2 separate regions of the Homo sapiens genome follow, and region 2 is linked to region 1. The links are contacts of gene promoters, found by promoter capture Hi-C in blood cells and fetal thymus (Javierre and others, 2016). All regions are on one chromosome and are shown on one strand. Each heading gives the region's core, a stretch centred on a gene start or on the middle of the fragment in contact. The rest is flanking DNA. Distances are from core to core; before and after follow the strand shown.

Evidence for each region. The method cuts DNA at HindIII sites, captures the fragments that hold promoters and counts their contacts. A CHiCAGO score of 5 or more calls a contact.
Region 2: a fragment that was not itself captured here is called in contact with the fragment with the promoter of PCNX4-DT in region 1 in 1 of 17 cell types (naive B cells); the score reaches 5.7 in naive B cells.

The regions. Positions count from the first base shown.
Region 1 is chr14:60,089,511-60,093,975 of GRCh38, reverse strand. PCNX4-DT (PCNX4 divergent transcript) reads left to right here and starts at 2,230. Exons shown (of 5, transcript XR_943918.4): 1 at 2,230-2,273. PCNX4 (pecanex 4) reads right to left here and starts at 2,053. Exons shown (of 11, transcript NM_001330177.2): 1 at 1,557-2,053. RefSeq lists enhancers at 1,226-1,859, 1,823-2,012, 2,103-2,232. The HindIII fragment of the contact is 2,213 bases long and covers 779-2,991 here.
Region 2 is chr14:58,634,323-58,638,787 of GRCh38, reverse strand. DACT1 (dishevelled binding antagonist of beta catenin 1) reads right to left here and starts at 826. Exons shown (of 4, transcript NM_001079520.2): 1 at 241-826. The coding sequence starts at 585. RefSeq lists a silencer at 326-1,035. The HindIII fragment of the contact is 545 bases long and covers 2,352-2,896 here.

The DNA of each region.
Region 1 (4,465 bases), core at 981-3,480:
AGCACAGAAAATATAAAATGATACTCAACATCATTACTCATTAGAAAAACACAAACTGAAACCATAATGAGGTACCATTTCAAACCTCCTTGACTGGCTAAAATAAAAATGGCAGACAATAATAAGTATTCATGAGACTGTGGAGAAATCAGAACCCTCAAACATATCTGGTGGTTATGTAAAATGATACAGCTCCTTTGGGAAACAGTCTAGCAGTTCCTCAAAAGGCTAAACATAGAGTTACCATATAACCCAGTAATTCTACTCTCAGGTATACACCCAACAGAGATAAAAACATATATGTCTACACAAAAATCTGTACACAAAAGATTCATAGAAGAAATATTACTAACAGCCAAAAAATGAAAACAACCCAAATGTCCATCAATGAATGGATAAATGTGATATATCCACACAATGAAATTAGACTATAAAAAGGAATGAAGTACTCATACATTCTACAACATGGCTGAACCTTGAAAACACACTAAGTGAAAGCCCGTTACAAAAGGCCACATATTGTATTTTCCCGTCTATGTGAAATGTCCAAAATAAGCAAATTTATGGGGACAGAAAACAGATTAGTAATTGCTTATGGCTGGTGGGGTAAGGATAATGGGGGGAGGGAGGTGGTGACTGCTGAGGGTAAAAGGTTTCTTTTTGGGGTGATGAAAATGTTCCAAACTTGACTGTGGTAAGGGTTGCACAATTCTATAAATGGGTGAATTGTATTGAATGTAAATTACATCTCAATAAAGCTCTTAAAAAAGAAAAAGCTTCCCTGATTGGTATTTTCCACAGCAGTTAATAATTAGAAGGCAGCTCTTTAAGTAGGAAATTTAGGAGCAGCCAACAGATGCTACAAACAGTTAAATTCGTGAAAAGGCAACATCTGAACTGGATGCTATGCTAAAGGTCTGGGGATTTGGCGTGAGTGGCGGTGGATACCAAATAACATGAAGGGCAGTCTTTGCCCTAACTGCAGGAATGATTTAATGAAGAAAACAAACACCTAAAAATAGTAAAAAATGAGTAAGTGAAAAATGATGGATACAGAGCAGATAACCAATTCAGCGGCATGGAAAACAACTTCCGATTCACTGGAGTAAATTCTGGTCCTGGAGAGACAAGAGGTTGTGGGGACAGAGGTCGAGATCAGTGGGGAAGGAGCGCTTCACGTTCAGGGGGCCATGAGTTGAACAATTCGGACAAAAGAGGTTTAGTTGGAGATATTGCGAGAGTACAGTTCTACCTAACGGACACAGCTCCGGGTGGGTGTGCCATATTCCATTTCGTACGAGTCTCTTAGAAACAAAATGCTACAATTCAACAGGCTAAAGTAGTCTTTCAAAGGAAAGTTAAAATCACACTGAATTACTATCTCTAATGACTGAGTTCATTAAGCGCAATAATTGCACTTAAAGGTTTTGCAACGAAAAACGAAAAATATGTTTCTTGTGGCAATGAAAGCCCCTAGAACAACTTGGCTCTCCGCACAGGCTTGGACATTAAGATGCCGAAGAAGTCCCGAGGTGGACGTCGGACAACGAACGTACCTCAAGTCACCCGAGGGAAGAGAAGACGCGAAGGCATCCCAGGGACCGCATTTTTGCAGGTAAACTCGGGCTGGGCGCTCCCGCCGGGAGGTTGGTTAGTGCCCGAATGCGGAGGCAGAAAAGCTGCGGCGGCCGAATAACGAGCTCACCGCGGCCCCGCCCGGGCCAGCTCTCGGTTTCCATGGCTAACGTCTACTCCGGCGGCCGCCACCCGGAGCTGAACGGAGCGCGTGCGCGTTCGGGGACCTCGTCGGCGCCTGGCTGGCCTCGCTGCCCCGGTCTGTGCTCGCTCCCGAGGCGGGCCCTGCCGTAAAGCAGGCTTGGCCTAGAGGAAGCAGGGAAATAGCGCGCTTCGTTCGCGCCAGGACTAGGCCAACATCTGCCTGGCCGGGGACGACGGGAGTCGCTCGTGCTCTGGTCTCGCACTGGGCCTAGCAGAAGCAGCAGCGGGGAAAGCCGAGACGCCCTGAACGTTCCCTTGGGCCGGGCCTTTACGCAAGAGCGTCGTTGCCCTGGTGACGTGACGTCCTTCCTCAGGATTGTGCGCCGGGGTGGGGAAACAGACGTGCAACCGCCATTTTGCGCATTAATTTACCAGAGGTCGGGTCAGGCTGTCTTAACGCAGGCAGAGGGGTGTGGCAGATCTCCAACCGCTCGGGGTCCCGTGATTTCCATTAATGAATTCGCACACTGGCGTTACCACTCAACACACCGACGGTAATGAATGTTTTTGAGTGATACTTCATGCAGCCTATTCGGCTTGGACGATTGGGGACTGCATAACGTGATCGCTATCGCCTCAGTTTGTGGCTGCGTTTTAAAATACAAGGAACCAACATGTCCATTATAGAAACGTGTTATTAAGATATTAATAAAACAAGGCAGAGTTCCGGCGTTCCAATTAAAAGGCCATGGCTGATTCATATTAGTGTGGCGGGAATCTTTACAGCCTGGCCGCAAAGACCCCAATTAACGCTAGTTAAAAAGTTATCCCTATACCCAGGGCTCACCTCCCCCATTCTCCACGAAATATGATCCCCCCCCCGCCCCACCAAGTTCTGGACACGTTCCAGATTGCCAACTGGGAGTCCTCAAGACGGCCCCGGAGAGCGTTAACAATGATTGGTCTCAGCTGATTTAGAGGCTCGGGTAAGGGAACTTTGAAGCTAACTTGTCGGTATCAAGGTACCCGCAATTCCCCCATGTGATTGGGTAGATGCCCTAGCAGTTCTGCACACTTCAGCGTCCAAGATGACTTGTGGACTGTTTTGTTTGGATCTCCATTCCTCAAAACTATAAATGCGGCCTTAATTTTTTTTTTTTTTTAATTCTTGGCTCTTGGCTGTCTTGGAAATGCTGACTTTGTATTTAAGTATTTAGGTTTTCAGGTCGTAATAGAAAAATAATTACTGTGTTCATATTAAAAGCCAAAGCTTTATTTATTTATTTTTAAGATATTGTGTCCAGAGCAAAAGTGTAGTGTGTTGAAAGCATGTGGAAGAAAACCCCGGATATACATATACTTGTCTTCAAGGACTTAATTTGCAGGTAGACCCTTTCATAGTTTGGTATCTTCACGATTTGATAGAATATGGGAAAACGTGCTGTTGGTCCATCCATAGTTTTTCTCATTGAAGCTCACTCATTGCGGGTCAGAGTACCACATTAAGCATCTCGGAAGCATCACTTACCGCCAAGAAGTCTGAGTTTCATGTAATTAAGAGTGGAGGCTCCAGAGTCAGGAAGTCTGGGTTGAAACCCTGGCACTACTGCTTACTACTTGTGAGATCTTGAGGTTATGTAATTTCTCTAGTGCTCAGTTTCCCCATATCTTGTAAAATAAGGCAAATAATAGAACTTAACCCGCAGAGAGTTATGTCATTGGATTAAATCAAATAATTGTAAATTGCTTAGCAGAGTAAATGGCACAGCTTAAGTGCTTAGTAAGGATGAGCTATTATCTTTATGTAGAGAGTCTGTATTTATGCTTGTTCTTCTCATGGGCATTACATATGACCCAAGCAGAATTAACATGTTTATTGTTGAAATATCTGCTGTTTTTCAAATATATTTGAACATCGTGCTTTCTTAGAATAAAATTAGTAGGGCATATGGTACAAGCCCTTTGGTTAGCTGTGTATAAAATATTCATTCAACATTTATTGAAATAGTGAAGGGAATAGTGGTTCCTATTTGTCAGGAACTACACTAATTGCTGCAGATATAAAGTCAAATAAAACATGATCCTTAAGGAATTTACCAAAATATAACTTGGACATCAAGGACATAACTTGAACAACAAGGACATCAGTAATTACAGTGTATGTGATAAACAGGTATGCGCTGAGCTTCAGAAACAAAGTGGGACACATAATTCTGGGGAAATTAAGGATGGTTGCAATCCATTTTTAAAGGGTGAGTGGACAGCTGGGCCAGGCGTGGTGGCTCTTGCCTGCAATCCTAGCACTTTGGGAGGCTGAGGTAGGAGGATCGCTTGAGCCTAGGAGTTTGAGGCAACATGGTGAAACCCTGTCTCTACAAAAGATACAAAAAATTAGCCAGGTGTGGTTGTGTGCGCCTGTGGTCCCAGCTACTCAGAGGCTGAGGTAAGAGGTTGTTGCAGTGAGCCGAAATTGCACCACTGCACTCCAGCCTGGACAACAGAGTGAGATCTTGTCTCAAAAAAAAAAAAACAAAACAAAAACAAAAACAGAGTTAGCTGGGAGAAGAGGTATTCCAGGTAGGGGAACATTTATTCTTTAATTCATTCAACACATACTTAGAGCATACATAGAATCAGTACTTTGTGTACCTCATTTAATCTTAACCTTATGAGGTAGCTTATTATTATTTCAAATGTAAGGAATCTGAGCTTGAGAAAAGTAAAATAAGTGATGACATCTGGAGTT
Region 2 (4,465 bases), core at 1,375-3,874, 1.5 Mb after region 1:
GCAATCCGCGCGAGGTCGCCAGACACAAAGCGGGCACACGCCAGAAACGCGTGGGCGTCGGCAGCCCACACGCCGCGGGCACTCAGGAAGGGGATCAGGGAGGTATGGGGCGGTCGGGGGCGTCCCATAACAGCGAGCATCTCCCCAGCCAGAGTCAACCTCGCGCCCGCCCCAGGCCACCTGCCCGACCTCCAGCCCCTGGGCAGGAACAGCCGTGCTCCACCTTCGGGCACGACCTACCAATTGCTTTCTTAGCAGCAAGATGTTCTCCTCCAAGAACTTCTCCTCCAGGCGACTGCGCTGCGCCGCCTCCCCCAGTAGCTCCCCAGCGCGGGGCGCAGCGGCTCCCGCACCCCCGGCGCCGCGCAGGGCGCCCCTGACCAGCAGCTCTTGGCGCTGGCGCAGGTACTCCAGCTCCGCCAGCCCGGCCAGCGTGGCCTCCTGCCGCTCCCGGGTGCGCTGCCGCTCGGTGTCTGCCTCGCCCTTCTCCCGCCAGCGCCCCTCGGGCTCCGCCGTGCGCTGCTCGCCTCGGGCCGGCGCCGGAGGCTCCAGCTCCTTCGCCGTCCCGGCCGGACTCGGCTTCATGGCCCCCAGTCGGGCAGCGAGAGCCGTCACCGCAGCCGGGCCGCCCAGGCGGAGGAGCAGGGCGCTAGGGCTGCGGCCGCGGGTGGGCTCATGCCGCCCTGTGGCGGGGCGCGGCGCTGGCGGGGACGGTGGCTAGAAGCCCTCGAGTCCTGCGCGCGACCGCCGGCTGCTGCTGTCCCGGCCCGGGCAGCGCCGTCCGCTGTCGCCGCGCGTCCCTCGCCGCGGCCCGGCAGCTGATAACGCCCTGCCCGGCGCTACGTCACGCGCGGCGGCCCTGCAAACCCCCGCCTGGCGCCCGCCTCCCCGCGCCGGCCCCTCGGCTGCGACGCTTGCGCCCCCAGGCTTCCCCTCCTCTGTCAGGCGCGCCGCCCGGCCCCCAGAGCCGCCTCCTCCTCGCTCGGCCCTCCCCGCCCCTCCTCGCCCCTCCCCGCCTCCTCCCCCGCTCTCTTCGCGGGCCTCCTCGCCCCCTTTTCGGGTTTACTGCACCCGATTTTGCCCTCGCTCCTCATTGGCTCTTTCTCGTCGCCCAAAGCTCGGGGCGAGCGCCTGGAGCCCCAGCATCCTGTTACAGTCGGCCGCGCAGGCAGGGGCCGCGACGGGACGCGGCAGTTGGGCTCTCCGGAGAACTTTCTGAAACTCGACCAAGTTGCAGCACAGTCTTAACCCTTTCCCCACACGGCCACTCCTCATTTCCACTCACACCGAGTTAGGTTTCTTTCACTTCCCAAGCAAGGTATTGCAAGTGTATTCACAGACACTGTGGGGTTGGTTCCTTAACTCCACTTTGTAAAGGCAAGCAATACAGAGCACAATGCAGTGTTCTAAAACTTAAGTTTTGTTGTCGTTTTAATTTTTTAACGTCGGTCTTACGATGGACGGCATTTAAAATTAGGCAGGAGGATGTCGTTGTATAGCGAGAGGTTGCATCAATTCTTTTACAAGCCTACGATTTGAGTGCGCGCGCGTGCGCGCTTTGGTTTTTGTTTGAGCTTTTATTATTACTTAGTCTGCGTTTACAATAAGAGCTCTGACTCAGAAATCAGACTGTCTGGATTTGTATCCCAGTTTCACCCCTAAATAGCTGTGCGGGCAACTTACTCCCTTCTCTGTGTACGTTCCCCCCACTGTAAAAGGGAGCAGCTGCTATGGGAACCTGCTGTTGAAGAATTATAATAGTATGCAGCATATGCTATATATTGTGGGGGCTGTGCACTTACAACGTGGCTAGCACATAGATAGTAAAGGTGATATGAGTTGTAGCTTTTCTCCAGAGGGATTTATAAGTCTTCCCTCTTGAAGTATCATGTATTGGTCATCTCTGCTTGGAACACACTACTCCAGACCCCTATCCCACTGAAATTTCCGGTGGGATAGGGGTCTGAAAATTCCACTAGCTGGCTTATCTGTGGAAAAGTACCACATATATCTTTAAAAGCAGTACATCCAAGAACCTCGGAAATTCAATCCAGCAAGTCACAATTGCTGAAGTTCAGGCAAAGTGTTGTGTGAAAGAGTGCATCCTATATCATTATTTCAGACACTTGCACTTTTGCCCATCTGCTTACCCGTGCTAGGAATTCCTCTTCTTTCCTCCCCTCTCTGTGTGGTCTAACCACCCTTCCAACCTTTGAGCTCCAGTTAACTATATAAATATCTGATTCTGATCCCATGCTACCTGTATGGTTATTTATCTGGGTGTGCACACGCATATCTATCTACGTAGGTGTTTATGTGTATCTCTTCTCTCCATCTACATTATGAAAGCTTCCTGAAGGCAGGGACTGTTTTAATACCCTCTTAGTATCGCTGTATTCAGCACATTACCTTGCAAGCATTCACCTGACAATTGCTAGAGAGAGACTCGAGAATGTAGATTGGTTGTAAATTGTTTTTTCATTAGCATACTTTTAAACTTAATAGTACCCATTTAATCTCTACTACAAATAGAATTAAGTTGACATTTACCAAAAAACAAAAACAAAAGAACTCCCTTGCCACCTTTCACTTTCCTCCCCATTGCTGCCTCCCACAGACATGAAAGAACTACAAACTTGATTCATAATTAACAAGGTTGTATATTAGCTCTAAAAATGGAATTATGGTCAGGTGTTCATAAGCATACAAAATCGATTCTCTTCAGGTTATCTATTCTTTATGCCTGCTGTTGCCAAACACTACTTTATAATATAGGAACTAATTTTCCTCCCTAATTTTAGTAAGGCACGAAAGGATAGTGACTTATCCTGCTTGCCAAATGCCACTCACCCATGTCCTCTGTCATTGTTTCATTCTGCTCATTTCTAAACAAGCTTCTTGCTTTCCAGCTCTGAATTAGATTCCTCTGACTGGGTGGAGTCTATTATTGTGGCCTGTGTTATGTCACACATCGACAACTATATTTGTATAGTTGAGGGGGAAAAAAAGCTGAAACACATTTTTACACACTACTAATAAATCTTAAGTCAGGCAGACAAGCTCGCTATGTCTCCAAACCTCCCCACCCTCCCAACCCCCCTCCTCACCAAATGCCACTTTGAGCTGGCTCATTAGTCCAAAGCAAGCCATTTGCCGTAACAGCTTGTATATCTCCATGAAAAAGTGTTCTCAGCAAGTTTAAATATTAAAACTAATATATTCAGATGGTTCCGCCAATAAAATGGTCACGAATAGGAAAAAAGGTTATGCTTTCCAAAGTATCCATTACACATTAATAAATAATGCTGTTCATTCACATGCCAATTAAAACAAACTCAGGCTGTCAAATGAAGTTAGAAGCAAGGAGCTCAATGCTGTAATTGTTTTTCCAGGAAAACTCCCAATGTCATCAGATTAAGTGAGACAGGCTGGGTTGCCCCTATTCTCTTTTTAAGCTAGCAGCCAAATTTTCTCCCCTCCAGTCTAGTTGCCTGGATTTTCTTTCCTCTTTGATTCTTTGTTTTTGTTGCAGGTATTCCGGAAGCAGTTGAAAGTGATCGCCTACTGCTCCCTTCTGTTGCCAACGGAATCTCACTTCCCCCTACTGTTTTGATTTTTCTTTCCCTTTCTTTTTAAAGCAGGTGCTGGTACTTCTTCCTCCACTAGTGCTATTTCATTATCTCCTTTCTAATGTTGTTCAGCCCTAGTTGGTTCTTTTGCTTTCCCTGGACACGCCTGTCTGCTCAGAAAAACTGTTAATTGACACTCAGAAAGTGTACCACTAACGATGGGGTGGACCTGCTGCCTGGATGATCTGGAGAGTAAGATAAAGTTGCCAGCATGAAAAAGAGTCTTGGCTGAATATATTACAGTGGTGTTAACTTATGCTTGAAGATCTTTCCTGGGCAGAGCCAGAACATGTCCCTCATATCACACAGTCTGATGCTTTGTCCTTAGGCAGAACAGCTCCTAACAGCACCCCCACCAAAGTCTGAGCATCATTCTACAAATGCCTTGTCCAGCGGTGAACATTCTATTGCAGCCAAGCAAAGTAAGGGGCATCAGTTGCACATTTTGCCATCAAGCAAAGCAACAAAATGATGCCTTGCAGCTTTTATGGCCAAACAAACACAAATGATGTAATTGGGAAAAGCTGTCTCCGAATAGGAGGAAAAGAGTAAAGGGCAATCCTTTGAGCTGGAGAGATGACCACCATTCGAGGGTCTGGGATCAAAGCCCCAGCCAGACATCAAAGCCCATTTGAGTCTAATGCCAAAAAAGCCACAGTGAATTAAACTTCATATATAAACTAATTATAGCTTGACCCCACAATCAGGCTTCAGTGAGCACACAGGGGAAAGAAAGCAGACATTGAAACAAAAGATCAAGAAAAAAGAAGCGTGGTAGCAAAATGGGGCAACATCATGGCCCTGAAAATTTTAAACATCTTTTGAGGGCAGAAGGG